Linked DNA regions of Homo sapiens: regions 1, 2 and 3 are each linked to region 4. Evidence: promoter capture Hi-C in 16 types of primary human blood cells and fetal thymus (Javierre and others, 2016). All regions are on one chromosome and are shown on one strand. The core of a region is centred on a gene start or on the middle of the fragment in contact, and the rest is flanking DNA. Distances in the headings are between cores, read along the strand shown.

Evidence for each region. The method cuts DNA at HindIII sites, captures the fragments that hold promoters and counts their contacts. A CHiCAGO score of 5 or more calls a contact.
Region 1: a fragment that was not itself captured here is called in contact with the fragment with the promoter of COL4A2-AS2 in region 4 in 3 of 17 cell types (naive B cells, total B cells and activated CD4 T cells); the score reaches 6.5 in naive B cells.
Region 2: a contact is called between a fragment that was not itself captured here and the fragment with the promoter of COL4A2-AS2 in region 4, in 1 of 17 cell types (endothelial precursors). The highest score is 15.3, in endothelial precursors.
Region 3: a contact is called between a fragment that was not itself captured here and the fragment with the promoter of COL4A2-AS2 in region 4, in 1 of 17 cell types (endothelial precursors). The highest score is 6.5, in endothelial precursors.

Annotation. Positions count from the first base shown.
Region 1 is chr13:110,806,855-110,810,163 of GRCh38, forward strand. It overlaps LINC00567 (long intergenic non-protein coding RNA 567), which reads right to left. Exons shown (of 1, transcript NR_135280.1): 1 at 2,822-3,309. Among named protein-coding and RNA genes, the nearest start is that of LINC00567, 4.6 kb to the right of the region's middle. The HindIII fragment of the contact is 666 bases long and covers 1,547-2,212 here.
Region 2 is chr13:110,203,219-110,206,861 of GRCh38, forward strand. It overlaps COL4A1 (collagen type IV alpha 1 chain), which reads right to left. Exons shown (of 52, transcript NM_001845.6): 15 at 3,447-3,497; 16 at 2,276-2,320; 17 at 2,135-2,188; 18 at 348-389. Among named protein-coding and RNA genes, the nearest start is that of LINC03082, 76 kb to the left of the region's middle. The HindIII fragment of the contact is 1,113 bases long and covers 1,838-2,950 here.
Region 3 is chr13:110,183,260-110,186,512 of GRCh38, forward strand. It overlaps COL4A1 (collagen type IV alpha 1 chain), which reads right to left. Exons shown (of 52, transcript NM_001845.6): 26 at 3,126-3,253; 27 at 1-17. Among named protein-coding and RNA genes, the nearest start is that of LINC03082, 56 kb to the left of the region's middle. The HindIII fragment of the contact is 9,885 bases long and covers 1-3,253 here.
Region 4 is chr13:110,462,037-110,464,939 of GRCh38, forward strand. COL4A2-AS2 (COL4A2 antisense RNA 2) reads right to left here and starts at 1,251. Exons shown (of 5, transcript NR_171022.1): 1 at 987-1,251. It overlaps COL4A2 (collagen type IV alpha 2 chain), which reads left to right. Exons shown (of 48, transcript NM_001846.4): 23 at 78-150; 24 at 242-348. The HindIII fragment of the contact is 13,540 bases long and covers 5-2,903 here.

The sequences.
Region 1 (3,309 bases), core at 630-3,129, 350 kb after region 4:
TTTTTGAGCCTAGAATGTAAAGCTGCACCCAGGTTCAGCGACAGACAAAACAGCAGGGCGCTCAGAGCCCCCCTGTCCAAGGTGCACAACCGGGGTTCAGACCTTCCCTATGAAGTGGTGCCAGGGTCCAAAATTCCCCTGGGAAGTGGCTGGAGGTCCCTTTCCAAACTCTCAGTGGTGCCTTGGGACTGCCTCTGCTTTGGAAGTATTTGTTCTTTATCTCTCTGCTCATATGCAAAAGAACTTATTAAAAAGCTGTAATGGAGTCTTGGGAAGTTTTTGTGATTGGATGCACCTGAGCTCATATCTTGGTTCTCCTACTTTCTTGGGCAAGTCACTAAACTACTCTAGATCTTGGTTTCTTTATTTGTAAAATAGAGTAAAATGCCCTTTTCATTTGGCCATCCAGAAAGTTAAATGAGATCACATGTGTGTTTAAAGCACATAGGCCTATTCCCATTTGATTCTTTCATTTCTTCTTCTCCCTTCTTTCTGATGAAGGAGGACTTTAGTTTGCTTCTGTAACTTAACCCATACTTAAACAGGAAGAGTATATTTAGCATTGAGAATATATTTTTTTCTGCAGCTGTCCTAGATTAAAATAAACAAAAATAAATAAATGAATGCCTACCATTCTGAGCAGCTCAGGGTGTATGTTTGAGACTGCTTTGAAACTCTAATACAAGCACAGGCATACCTGTCCTGGTGCTTTTGCACACAAGCCTCACACTGTCCAAGAGGACAGAGTGTGTGTGGCTCCCAAATGCATGTGGAGCCCCCTCCAGATCTGGGGAGGCTGCCCCATATGGTGCTGGACAGTGGCTGCACCAGGACCTGGAGGGGAACCTGAGACCTAGGCCCAGGCAGGTGGGGGCTGTGAACATGTGGCTGGGAGAGGCCATTGTCCATACACAGACAGCCCAAGTTGTTCAACTCCATTTGCCAACCCATGCCCTGCCCCTGGCTTGACTGGTCCCCCTCCTCTTCTGCTACTAAAGTATCTCCTGAAGCTGAGAACAAGCCAATGAGGATGATGGTGCCAGGGAGAGAGGATCCTGTGTTGGTCAAGGATGTGCGAGTAGCTGTTACCTCCATTGGCAGTTTTGTCACTAAAAGACCTCATTCACTTGAGCATTTGAGGATGACCAAATAGAATCACTAACTTTGGTTATTTCCAGTTTGGTCTGCATTAGACCATGACCAAGGAAAGCTGTGCCAATGACAAACCATATGCTTAAGTTTTCACCACATAAAAAGTTACTTTTAGGCAGAAGTCATGATACACTTTCCAAGAAATGGTTGTGGAATATTGTCCAAGCTGCGGGGGATTCGTTAAGTGGACATTGGAGAGCAGTGGTGCCTGGTGGCTTGGCACAGGTTCAGATGGAGAGACAAAAAAAAAAAAATTGCCATAAAATAAGCGAAGCATTGGTAGAGCCCAGAAAAAGTACCTGATTTTCCAGTTGGAAGTAACCCAAAAACGTGGTCAAGAATTTATATTGATTTTTCAAGACCTTTCTAGGGAAAGAACTTGAGGATCCTGGTAAGCTTTTCCAAAATGACTCAGAGTATCCATTTCTGTTTCTTCTCAAACCTTGCTATATATAATCACTGCAGGTCTGAAGAAACTCCACAAAACCTAAGCAGCCTCAATAAGAAGAAATCTAAACACACCATGGTCAAACTGCAAAAACCAAATCTTATGATACAGTGGGCAGTGGGCTATGTGTGCCAGAGAGGGCTTGATCTCAGGGGGTCCCTGGGGGTCTCCTGGTTTGTGTGGTATGTTGTTCTCAGAATATGACTGCCAGTAAAGTGCTGTATTTTCCAAGATGTAATCATTCCTTGTTTATTCGTTCCTGCCACCCTACACAGAAGGCATCAGAGTCCTAGAACGGCAGCTTGTTTTAATTAGAATTTCATGCAATTGAGAGAATTTAATAAGGTGGGTAGGATCTCATGTATTATATGTGTAATTAATAGGCAAAAATTAACAACCATTTATGCCAACTACAAACAGAAGATCTGATGGAATAAAGGACAACTTTTATAATAACAACAACTACTCGGAATACTGCAGGATATTACTACTACTTCAAAGTACTTCAAGATAAAGAAGAGGATAAAACAAGTGGAAAACCATAGTATGTTCACGGGTAGGAATCTACCTCATCATACAGAAATCACTTCTCTGTAGTTTATTTATAAGTTAAGCTTGATCCCATTTAAAATACGAGAAGTGTTGAGGATTTTTTAAAATGAGAAAAACCAATTATAAACTTTATAAGACACATACATATGAGATTTACATGAACTGTCTCTGGAAAGATGCAGGAGAAATGGAGTCCATTGGCTGCTCCCTGGGAAGGAAATAGGATGACTGGGGGAATGACTGGGAGATTTATTTCATTGGCTCTCATTTTGATTTATTTTTATTTTGAACTATGTGAGTATATAATTTTTGAAAATAGAAAATTATTTAAAATAGTAGTATAGATATTAAGCAATCAAGAAAACCCAGGAAAATACTGAAAAATAAAACAATAAAGTTTCCCATGTATTAAAACATATTATAATGTGGCATTAGTTCATGAATAGAGGGATGGAACTACCTAGGAAGTCCAGAAAATAGATGCCATATTATTACGTAATAAAGTGGCATTTGAAATCAGTGGGAGAAGTGTATTATCATCTGAAAGAGAAAGCTGGATTCCAACCACTCACATTTACAAAGTAAATTTCGTATGGATGGAAAATTTACACATGAAAAAAATGAAACCTTAAAAGTAACAGAAAAAACTGGGAGAATTATTAAATAATCTCTGATTCAGAAAGGACCTTTTTAATTCTGACACAAAATCTTTAAGCCAGAAAAGAAAAGATTGAGAAATTTGATCAACTCCCCACCCCTCAAACTAAGATATTCCTGAATGGCAAACATCACCAGAAACAAAATTAAATGATAATAAATTAGGAAAAATTCATGTACTTCACATCAAAGGAAAACGGCCAAAACAGTTAATTGTGTTGTGTGTTTTAAATATTGATTCCTAAAAATCAATATTTAAAAAGGACAGTAACTTAATTTAAAAAGTACCTGAAAACTGTACACACATACATAACCAGTTCCTTGGTGCTCAAACTCCTTACAATAAGAACGCAAACTAAAACAACACTGAAATACAATTTTGTTTGCTTATCAGATTGGCAAGGAATAGTACAAATAAAGTTTGTTCCCACACTGTATTTGTAAAGATGGTTGGGGCGGGGGGGTGGGGGGAAATGCGCAGTTTATCTTTGCTGCTGGAA
Region 2 (3,643 bases), core at 1,144-3,643, 260 kb before region 4:
AAAAAGGAGTCAAATATGTTGCTAATATTCTCATTCATGTGCAAACCTTTTCATTTTCAGTGATTTAAAGATGTGCAGAAATTATCAAAATATAATAAAAATAATAAACACGAAACTCCGTACAACAAATTAGAAAATCATTTCAAGTAGCATGAACCACTTTACATAACAAATGCAATTCTAGAGACAGCTGTGGGTGTGTGCCCTGCATCTCCTCTCCTTCCTCTCCCAGCGCTCTCACAGACCCAGGGTCCTCTCCTTCCTCCCCCCAGTGCTCTCACAGACCCAGGGTCCTCTCCTTCCTCCCCCAGCGCTCTCACAGACCCAGGGACAGCACTCTTACTCACAATTCCAGGTGGGCCAGGAGGACCTGCTTCACCCTTTTCTCCCTACAAAAGAAAAAATAACTTTCCTTGCATATTCTTACTATAAAGATTGTCTTGCAGAAAGCAGATTAAACATTTCTTCTGGTAAAATAGAGTGTGCCTACAGTAAATTAAAACTATTTTTCTCTCTTTAATATCTCTCATTCTGTGACGATTACAACAAAAATGAATAGATTTCATTTTGCTTTGCACACGCATGACACATGAAAATAAAGATCTCTGCAAAATATAAGTTGGGGGCTAATTATTCTCCTTACAAAAGCCCAGATACTTGTCCCATCAACTGCACACTTCCTCGGAAAACAGAATCATTGATGAGCGGAACTGGCAACCAGGGTTTTTCAATTTTAAAAAGAGAAATGAAATAAAATAATATAAAAGCATGATTTCCAAATACATTTTCTTAAATAAATCATTTTATATGATGTTTTTAGGTGAAGATTTTCTCAAATTTGCATTGGAGGTCATAATGTAAAATCTAATATTAACTGAAAACATTAGTGGATAAATTCTGATCACTTTAAGGTTTAATCTCATCCATAGTAGATGAAAAACTCAAAGAAATTAACCCTTTCATATCAAATATTTTTATATAAACGTCATCGTAATGATTTAAACAGTCCAAAGATATGTACATTTTACCATGAATGTATATATTTTCCTTTTAAATTAAGGCAGTAAACAAGAATTGAATGTTTTGATTTTTCTTATATGAATACCAGAAGATTTTAGAAATATCTAGAGGACATAAATATCTTAGCCACTATATTCTAAATATATCTACCATTTAAAATGTACAGGATTTTACTTCCTCAAAAAATTACAGCCAAGGGTTTCTTCCTTTTGTCCCTGGCTTTAATAAATTAACCGTAGGCTACTGAGGCCCTCCCCGCAGCTTTCCATTCGCCTTTGGTGATGACTATTCCAAAATTATCTCTTATATTAGTAAAGACTTACATTACCTAGTCTCATATTAAGAGAGAAAAATAAAGCAATAATGAGGTTTTTTTTTTCTGCCTGTCAGATTGACAAATATTTTTTAGATTTTTTTTTTTTTTTAGTTAGTTCCCCAACTAAAAGGGCCCTGGTCTGGCAGAAGGACTTTCTGGGGCAATTTGGTTGCATGTGGCAAAAATTTCAAAACAAGTGTCTGACTGTGGACCCCAATATTACGCTTTTAGGAATTTGACAGAGAAATGACCAGACAAGTGAGCAAAAATACTTGTAAGCATACAAATTTGGAAATGGCCTAAATACCACGCAACAAAAGGCATGGATGTTCACATCATAATTACACTGACGGCCATTGAAATAGATCCTCCTTCTATCATTACGTGAAAAAGCAAGATGTCTTGTTCACTATCACCTTTAAAAACTGCCTGCTTGTGTATGCACATAGGAACAAGGCGAACTCTGGCCACTTCTGAACAGGTAACAGAAAAAATTAGGTAAGCTTTCTTTACCTCGTGATATCTTTCTGTATTTTCTATTGCTTTATGATCAGGAAAAAAATAATCTACTACCAAAAAAAGATATAAAAATTTGAATGAATGGCACATTTCATATATTTTTATTTTGTAAAAAATCATGAACATAAAGGAAACCACTAAATTGTGTTTTTACCCAGAAGAAGCATAAATGATTTTTTTCCCTTGAGTACAGAGTCCTTTATTCTAGGAAAGAATAAACAGACTTCTGGGTTGAATTGGAAAGTGAAGATAAAGGCTCACAATAGTGCCAGCGTTTACCTGCGGGCCCTGGCGGCCTATGAGTCCTGGGTACCCGGGTTCACCAGGAAAACCCTGAAACCGAAGAGAGAAGCAGTAACCGTCAGAGGCCAGTGGTAGGAACAGTGAGCCTGCTTGTAAAAACCACAGAGAAACACTTACGGGACTCCCTTTTTCCCCTTTGTCACCATCTTTTCCGGGTTTGCCCTGTAGAATAAAGATGTAAACGTTAGTATTTAATAAATAATAGACTGCGCGCGGTGGCTCATGCCTGTAATCCCAGCACTTTGGGAGGCCGAGGTGGGTGGATCACCTGAGGTCAGGAGTTCGAGACCAGCCTGGCCAACATGGCGAAATCCCGTCTCCACTAAAAATACAAAAATTAGCTGGGTGTGGTGGCAGGTACCTGTAGTCCCACCTACTTGGGAGGCTGAGGCAGGAGAATCACTTGAACCCAGGAGGCGGAGGTTGCAGTGAGCCGAGATCACACCATTGCACTCCAGCCTGGGCAACAGAGTGAGACTCTGTCTCAAATATATATATATGTATATATATATAATAACGGATATAACACCAAAGCTCTGATTCAGATAGCTTAATATGTTGTCTCTCCTATGAAACACAAGCAAGGTAAATGAGGGTTCTATGTAAGTTGACAATACCACAATAATAAGTAATATTGTATATGATGAATAATTATGAAACAGTTACAATATAAGAGAACTCCATTTTTAAAGAGCAGAGTCCGATGAGCTACAAGTCTTCTAAAATATGATTGTATCTTGGTAGCAAAGCTAACATTAGAGAAGTTTGCCTATTGGCAGCTGAGTATTTGCAAGCTTATGCAAATGCTTCATTTAATGCAGGTTTCTGCATGCTCCTTCCAGGTAGAAACCAGAACCATCCCAGCTGACTGGCAGTGGGGTGGGTCTCACGCCACCACCATCCCTAAAGTGAAAAGCAACTCAGCCTCTCAGGCTTGTGGCTGTGCAAACACTGTCTGGTGTTCTGGGTGGCAAAGTCCAACCAACCTGCTGCTCTCAGAGCAGGACCGAAGGTTTCAGGGATGGCCCAGGGCTCTTCAGAAGCCTCTCTGAACAGCCGGCGGTGGCACCTTCAGTGCTGGATCCTTAAACAGGGAAGGACCTCGCCTGCCTGGGAAGCCTTGCAACTGATATAGCTCAGGAGAGTCTCGGAAAAGCCCTTCGGGGCATGAAAGGGATAAACTAGAAGTCCCTACGAGCCTTTTCTGTTCTTGTGTTTCTGTGAATCTGCGATTTTCCGCATGGAAGGAGAATTGTTTTATGATAAAAGGACTTTGGAAAGCACTTACTCTGGGTCCTGGTTTTCCGGGTTCACCTTTCTCTCCGACCCCTGGCATCCCCTTAAAGGAATAAAAAGACAAAGAGATTTATTCGTCTATTTAAGCAAAATTTAAATTAGATAGATATTAAACTTAAGGTGAAAAAAACTTGAAACTTAAATCTTTATGGTCTTTGACCTAAAAATGATAGGCAGAAACTGAGTACT
Region 3 (3,253 bases), core at 1-2,500, 280 kb before region 4:
TGGTTCACCCTTTGGACCTAGAGGAAAAAAAGAGCAAAGACAAACGATGAAGGAATGAGGACCACACGGAACACAGGGAGGACACGCAGTGGGTGGGCTGCACGCCACATCCTACCCAGCACCACGAGTGCCCGGAGAGCAGAGCCTCTGCCTGTGTTCTCCACTTCTTCCCTTGGTGTTTCTAGGATCTTTCACAGAGAGCTACGCTTCTCCCCATGCGTTTGCATGTCCAAAATGACCAAGATGTTTGTTGGACACAAGAATCCCTTAAGAGTCCACAATTAAGAGTCACAAGAAGCTGAAAAATCTACAACAACAACATGTGAGGTGGCTCTAGGTGATTTCTTAGTGAGCCGGTCTCAAAAAGTCAAAATACTTTTGCTGTTCTCTCTCAATTTACCAAAGTCTAAGTTGCTTTGAGATTGACCTAAATTACGGTCGTTTGGTGGGAAATTATCCAAACAACATGATCCGCGGGTGATTACGAACGATCCATTATCTGTAATGGTGCAGCTGGAGAGCTCTGCGCTCACTTGAGCAACACAGGCAAAACCATCCTTCCTCCCAAGCCAGGAAGCACAGCCCCGGCCCTCTGGGCACTCATGCCTAGGAGAGCCACCGGAGTGTCAGGGTTTCGCTGTTAAGAAAGGACCAAAGGCTTCCCCTCCAAGAATGCACGCACTGAATCTTCGTACACCTCGTAAGAGTTCAAGCTATGTGGGGCCTCCCTAGAACAGCCAGCACATTCTTTAGCTACAGACTGTGGGAAACGCCAACTGAACGACCCTAGGAAATGCCTGCTGTTGGTGACACACACCCTGGGCACCAGGCTTTTATGATTACCACAGTTACACACAGCTCTGGCAGATCAAAGACATCTGTTTTCTAATCTCGAAGCTAATTGGCTCTGGATGGCCAAGGAGCCCTACAGCTGTGGGGAGAGAGGATCAACAGCCCTGTTCCCCCTCCCCAGAAGCCTTCTTCCCCATCTGCTAGGGTATATTTGTGAGTACTCCAGTTGGTTTCTCTGATGGTAGTTTCTCGCCAAAAGAAAAGCTAATTCCCTTCGACAGCTCTGGAAATCTGCAGATGTCACAAGCACAAAGACAGCACTTGATTTGTTGATTGTGGAATCAAGAGACCCAAGGGAAAGTGATCGGAAGTCCCTATGCCTGGCTCACCGAAGTCCTCCTCCATCAAACCCGGTATCCCCTACCTCTAATGGAGTCATAAAAGAGACATTTCTGGGACGCTTCTAAACAAAGAACAACCATCAACAGAGTCAGAACTTGATGCTAAGTACTCACTGATTATACCAACAGGGAGAAGGATAAGAGTAACAGTTATGTTAGCACACTACACCTGGGCTTCCATCAAACACTGGCTGACATTTCCCATACTGGAATGCTTAGGAACTGGACTGTGTGTGTGTGTGTGTGTGTGTTTTGTTTGTTTGTTTGTTTGTTTTTGAGACAGTGTCTTGCTCTGTCATCCAGGCTGGAACGCAATGGCACGATCTCAGCTCATTGCAACCTCCGCCTCCTGGATTCAAGCAATTCTCCTGCCTCAGCCTCCCAAGTAGCTGGGATTACAGATGCCAGGGTTTCACCATGTTGGCCAGGCAGGCCTCGAGCTCCTGACCTCAGGTGATCTGCCCACCTTGGCCTCCCAAAGTGCTGGGATTACAGGCATGAGCCAGCGTGCCCAGCCTATACACTGTATATTAATAAGGAAATATTAGTCCCTAATGGGAATAGGAATTCATAAAACAGGCTCAATATGGTTATTGACATAATCAGCACACTTGCGAGCCAGAACGGCATGCTGTAATTGCTCCAACGTGGTTATTGTTGGGTATTTCAAATATCCAGCTACTTTATTTATTTATTTATTTATTTATTTTTGAGACGGAGTCTCACTCTGTCACCCAGGCTGGAGTGCAGTGGCGAGATCTTGGCTCTCTACAACCTCTGCCTCCCGGGTTCAAGCGATTCTCCTGCCTCAGCCTCCAGAGTAGCTGGGACTATAGGTGCCTGCCACCATGCCCAGCTAACTTTTGTATTTTTAGTAGAGATGGGGTTTCACCATATTGGCCAGGCTGGTCTCCAATGTCTGACCTTGTGATCTGCCAGCCTCTGCCTCCCAAAGTGCTGGGATTACAGGCGTGAGCCACCGCACCTGGCCCCAGCTACTTTATAAATAACTATGTTTTTTAAGGTTTACTAGTTAGATATTTTTAATCACCTTAAGTCCTTTCACTCACTTTTACAACTTTTGAATGTTTCCTAGCAACGCGCATTTACTTCCCTCATCTACACACAAGGCATTCCTAGCCTCTCCTCTTCTCATTCCGGGATTTTCTAGGGAAGAACAGGCGTGCTCCATGTCTACTGGGAATCGCAGTCAGATAATAAACTATTAGCACCTGCTGTGTGCAAGGCCTAGCGCCACAGCCCCCTCCCGCTGGCCCTGAAAATAAGCAAGTCGTGGGAGAGGAGAACGACGAGGGAGCCCACACTCATCCCTGCTACAGGTTCTCTGGAAAACCTCTGAACAGGCTGTGCAGGAGGGCAGGGACCACGTCTGTGGTTTTGACCATGTGTTGTCAATGCTCAGCATAGAGCTTGGCGCGTGATTCACTCCAAAAACAGCAGACAACTAAAACCACCATGGAATGAAATCGTCATCGCGCTGTAGGACCTCTAAATCCATTCACAGGCGTCTGCCGACTGTGAAGAGGTGGAGATCACACCACTCGGGATGCACAGAAGCCAAAATGGGCTGCTCATCGGGGAAAGCCAAATGGGTAAGGAGAGGAAAATGACTTGACCTCGGTGTGACTTCTATACAAAGGCTGACTTTAGCTGGTGCGTGCTGTGTACTTACTTATGAGGACTGTAAACCCAAGTTCTCCACCTGCATATTACCTGGCCCATCACATACATGAGGAAAGGGAGGCACAAAAGGCTGAAGGCTTGCCCAGGTCCTGCCCCAATTCCTGGAAGAATCAAAGCCAAGTGTGCGCCCTGGCCTATGCGAACCCCAGGCCTCTGTGTGCACCCGAGGTGCCTGCCCTAACCTCCGTTTACAACTTCATGCTGCATCACGAGTTTCTCAGGCCTCACCTGGCAGGCCTGGGGATCCAGGGCCTCCAGGAAAGCCTGCTTGTCCTTTGTCACCAATGGGACCAGCAGGACCATATCCTGGAGGCCCAGGGGGGCCGGTGTCACCACGACTGCCTGGGAATCCAACT
Region 4 (2,903 bases), core at 1-2,500:
AAAAAGCTTGCCAGCCATCTTCTCAGATGCCCTCACAGTACAAAGAAGGAAGATATTTTTTTGTCTGTTTTCCACAGGGAGTGCCTGGCAACATTGGTGCTCCCGGACCCAAAGGAGCAAAAGGAGATTCCAGAACAATCACAACCAAAGGTGAGTTCCTCTCTGGCCACGCGGCCCCTGGGGCACTGAGCCTTCCTGTGGGCACCTGCCTGGGCAGCTTCACATGCAAATCCCTTTCTAGGTGAGCGGGGACAGCCCGGCGTCCCAGGTGTGCCCGGGATGAAAGGTGACGATGGCAGCCCAGGCCGCGATGGGCTCGATGGATTCCCCGGCCTCCCAGGCCCTCCCGTGAGTAGCCACAAACTGCGGCAGCTCCGTCCTCTCTTCTTCATCCTTCAGGTTCTCCAAACACCCCAGAAGCAAACAGTATTGACATGAGCACTAAACCAACCTGTGCATAGGACAGGCTGCTCATTCTGCTCATTCTATTTCTAATGAGCAGAAATCAGACTTTTTAGGAAACGGTGAATTAAGTTAGAAGCCAAGCTCCAAATGAACATTTAAAAGTCAACAATCAAAGAAATATTCCTCCTGGTGTAACAGACTAAGAACCCTCCCCCGCCAAAAAAAGTAGACTATTCTAAAATGGGTGGTGGAACCCTATTTTTCCAAGGTAAATCATGAAATATACAATTTCATTTTTGCAACAAACACACACTGGTGTTGAAGGAGGGGCTACCTAGTAGCCTGCAGAGACCCCAGCATCATTTCCTCAGGGGAGGCTGGGGTCAGAGGCGCGGGAGGCAGCCATGGAGGGAGACAAGACCCCTTCCTGTGCACCCTCCAGCCTCTGAGCCTCTCCTGCCACCACGCCTTTCCCACTGCCAGCTCTGGAGCATTCTCTTCTCAGAAGGACCTTGCAACCTTATTTCTCACGTCTTTTTTTCTAGATTCCATTTTCCTCCCTCTAGTCACCAAGCCTGTACCTCCTTAAGCTCTTTGTACTGGTTTCCTGGGGCTGAGGTCACAAACTGCCACAGACTGGGCAGCTTAGACATCAGAAATGTATGGTCTCACAGCTCTGGAGGCTGAAAGCCGACATCAAGGTGTCTGCAGGGCTGGTTCCTTCTGAGACAGTGCGGGAGGATCTGTCCCTGCCTCTCTCCCAGGTTCCCGGAGCTCTGGCATTCCTTGGCTTATAGACGGCTGTCTTCTCTCTGTCTTCTCATCATCTGTCCTCTCTGTGTGTCTGTCTCTGGGCCCAAATTTCCCCTTTTTATAGGGAGAGCGGTCATATTGGAATGGGCCCATCCTAAAGACCTCATCTGACCTTGAGCACCCTCAAAGACCTTATTTCCAAATAAGGTCACATGTCTAGGTCCTGGGGGTTAAGACTTCAGCATCATTGGAGGACGATTGAAGTCATAATCCTCTTTCTCCTCCTCAGAGCCTCACGCCTGAATTCTATTCGCAGCTTATTTGCCTCATTCCATAACCCATGTCTTCTCTAGTTTTAACGTGGGTCATGTCTGTAATAACACTCTTGAGTGCAGTGGTACAATCAAAGCTCACTGCAGCCTCGAACTTCTGGACTCAAGCCATCCTCCTGCCTCAACCTCCCGAGTACCTGGGACCACAGGTGCACACCAGCACACCCACCTAATATTTTTAAAATTTTCTGTAGAGATGAGATCTCTCTATGTTGCCCATGCTGGTCTCAAACTCCTGGGCTCAAGTGATTCTCCTGCCTTGGCTTCCCAAAGCACTGGTTTTATAGACATCAGCCACCACACCCGGCCCACATTTTTACAATTTAAGTGCAGTTTTTTGGGGCCAGAGAACACAGATAATTCTATGATTGGGTATCTTAAAAATCTCATCTGGGAGGCAACAGGGTTAAATAAGAGGCAAAGTCATAATTGGTCACTTTAGCCAGAAGAGGAGGATGAGTGATGATTCCTGTGGTTGGAACAGTCTTTGGCCTGTTCAGTGTCATGTGGGGTGGGGGTGGTGAGTGTATGTGTGGTGTGTGGTGTGCTCATGTGTGTATGTGTGTGGTCCGTTTGAGTCTGGATTTGTTACGGTAGTGGTGGCCTTCCCTGGAGTTGGTGCCTTGTGAAGTTGGTGACCAGGAGGTGCACCTGTCCAGCCATGGGGTTCACCCACCCCTGCGGCTCCCAAGCCTGGCTGCCAGTCCCAGCCCAGCTGGGGGCAGGTGGTCGGAGCAGGGTTAGGGGTAGGGGTGAGGGTTAGGGTCAGGGAGAACCTTGCAGCCTCAGCTTCCCATTCTCGGGGTGTAGGGACTTTCCCAGTGCTTGTGTGCCTTCCTTGTTTGGTGGCATCTCTAAACCAAGAATGTCAACTTCTGCCTTTAGAAAACTCGTGATCCTGCCTGTGCCACCTTCCAGTGGCATCATCCCCACTGCTGTCCACTAAGTTTGGGGCATCTGCCCTGTGATCTCTGCAACAGCCTTGTGTCCCCCTCCCCTGTGAAAAAAAGCTAAAACACAGGGGTACACCACTTAATCAAGGTCTCATAAATAGAGCTGGACCGGTGTCCCTGCCCCGCTCCGTCATGCCTTTGACAAGGAAGGGGCTGTGGTGTCAGTGGAGAGCAGGGTTTGATTTCTTATAAGCAGCTGCCTCATTGTCATGAGAACACCCAGCCTCGTCCCGTGGCTCAGCAGATGAGCGGGAGCTTATGCGCATGGCTGTTCCACCAGCACGTGGGGACAGCACCGAGCCGTGCCGTGGTGTGTGCGCAGATCACACCAGCATCACTGCTGCCAGCCTCCCCACCCCATCCCTGCACCTCCCACCAGCTCCCCCCCGCACCCTGCAGCTGGTGCTTTCATCCACAGGGCAGCCCCTCTCCATTCCCAATCCTGTAATCTCTCCTGACT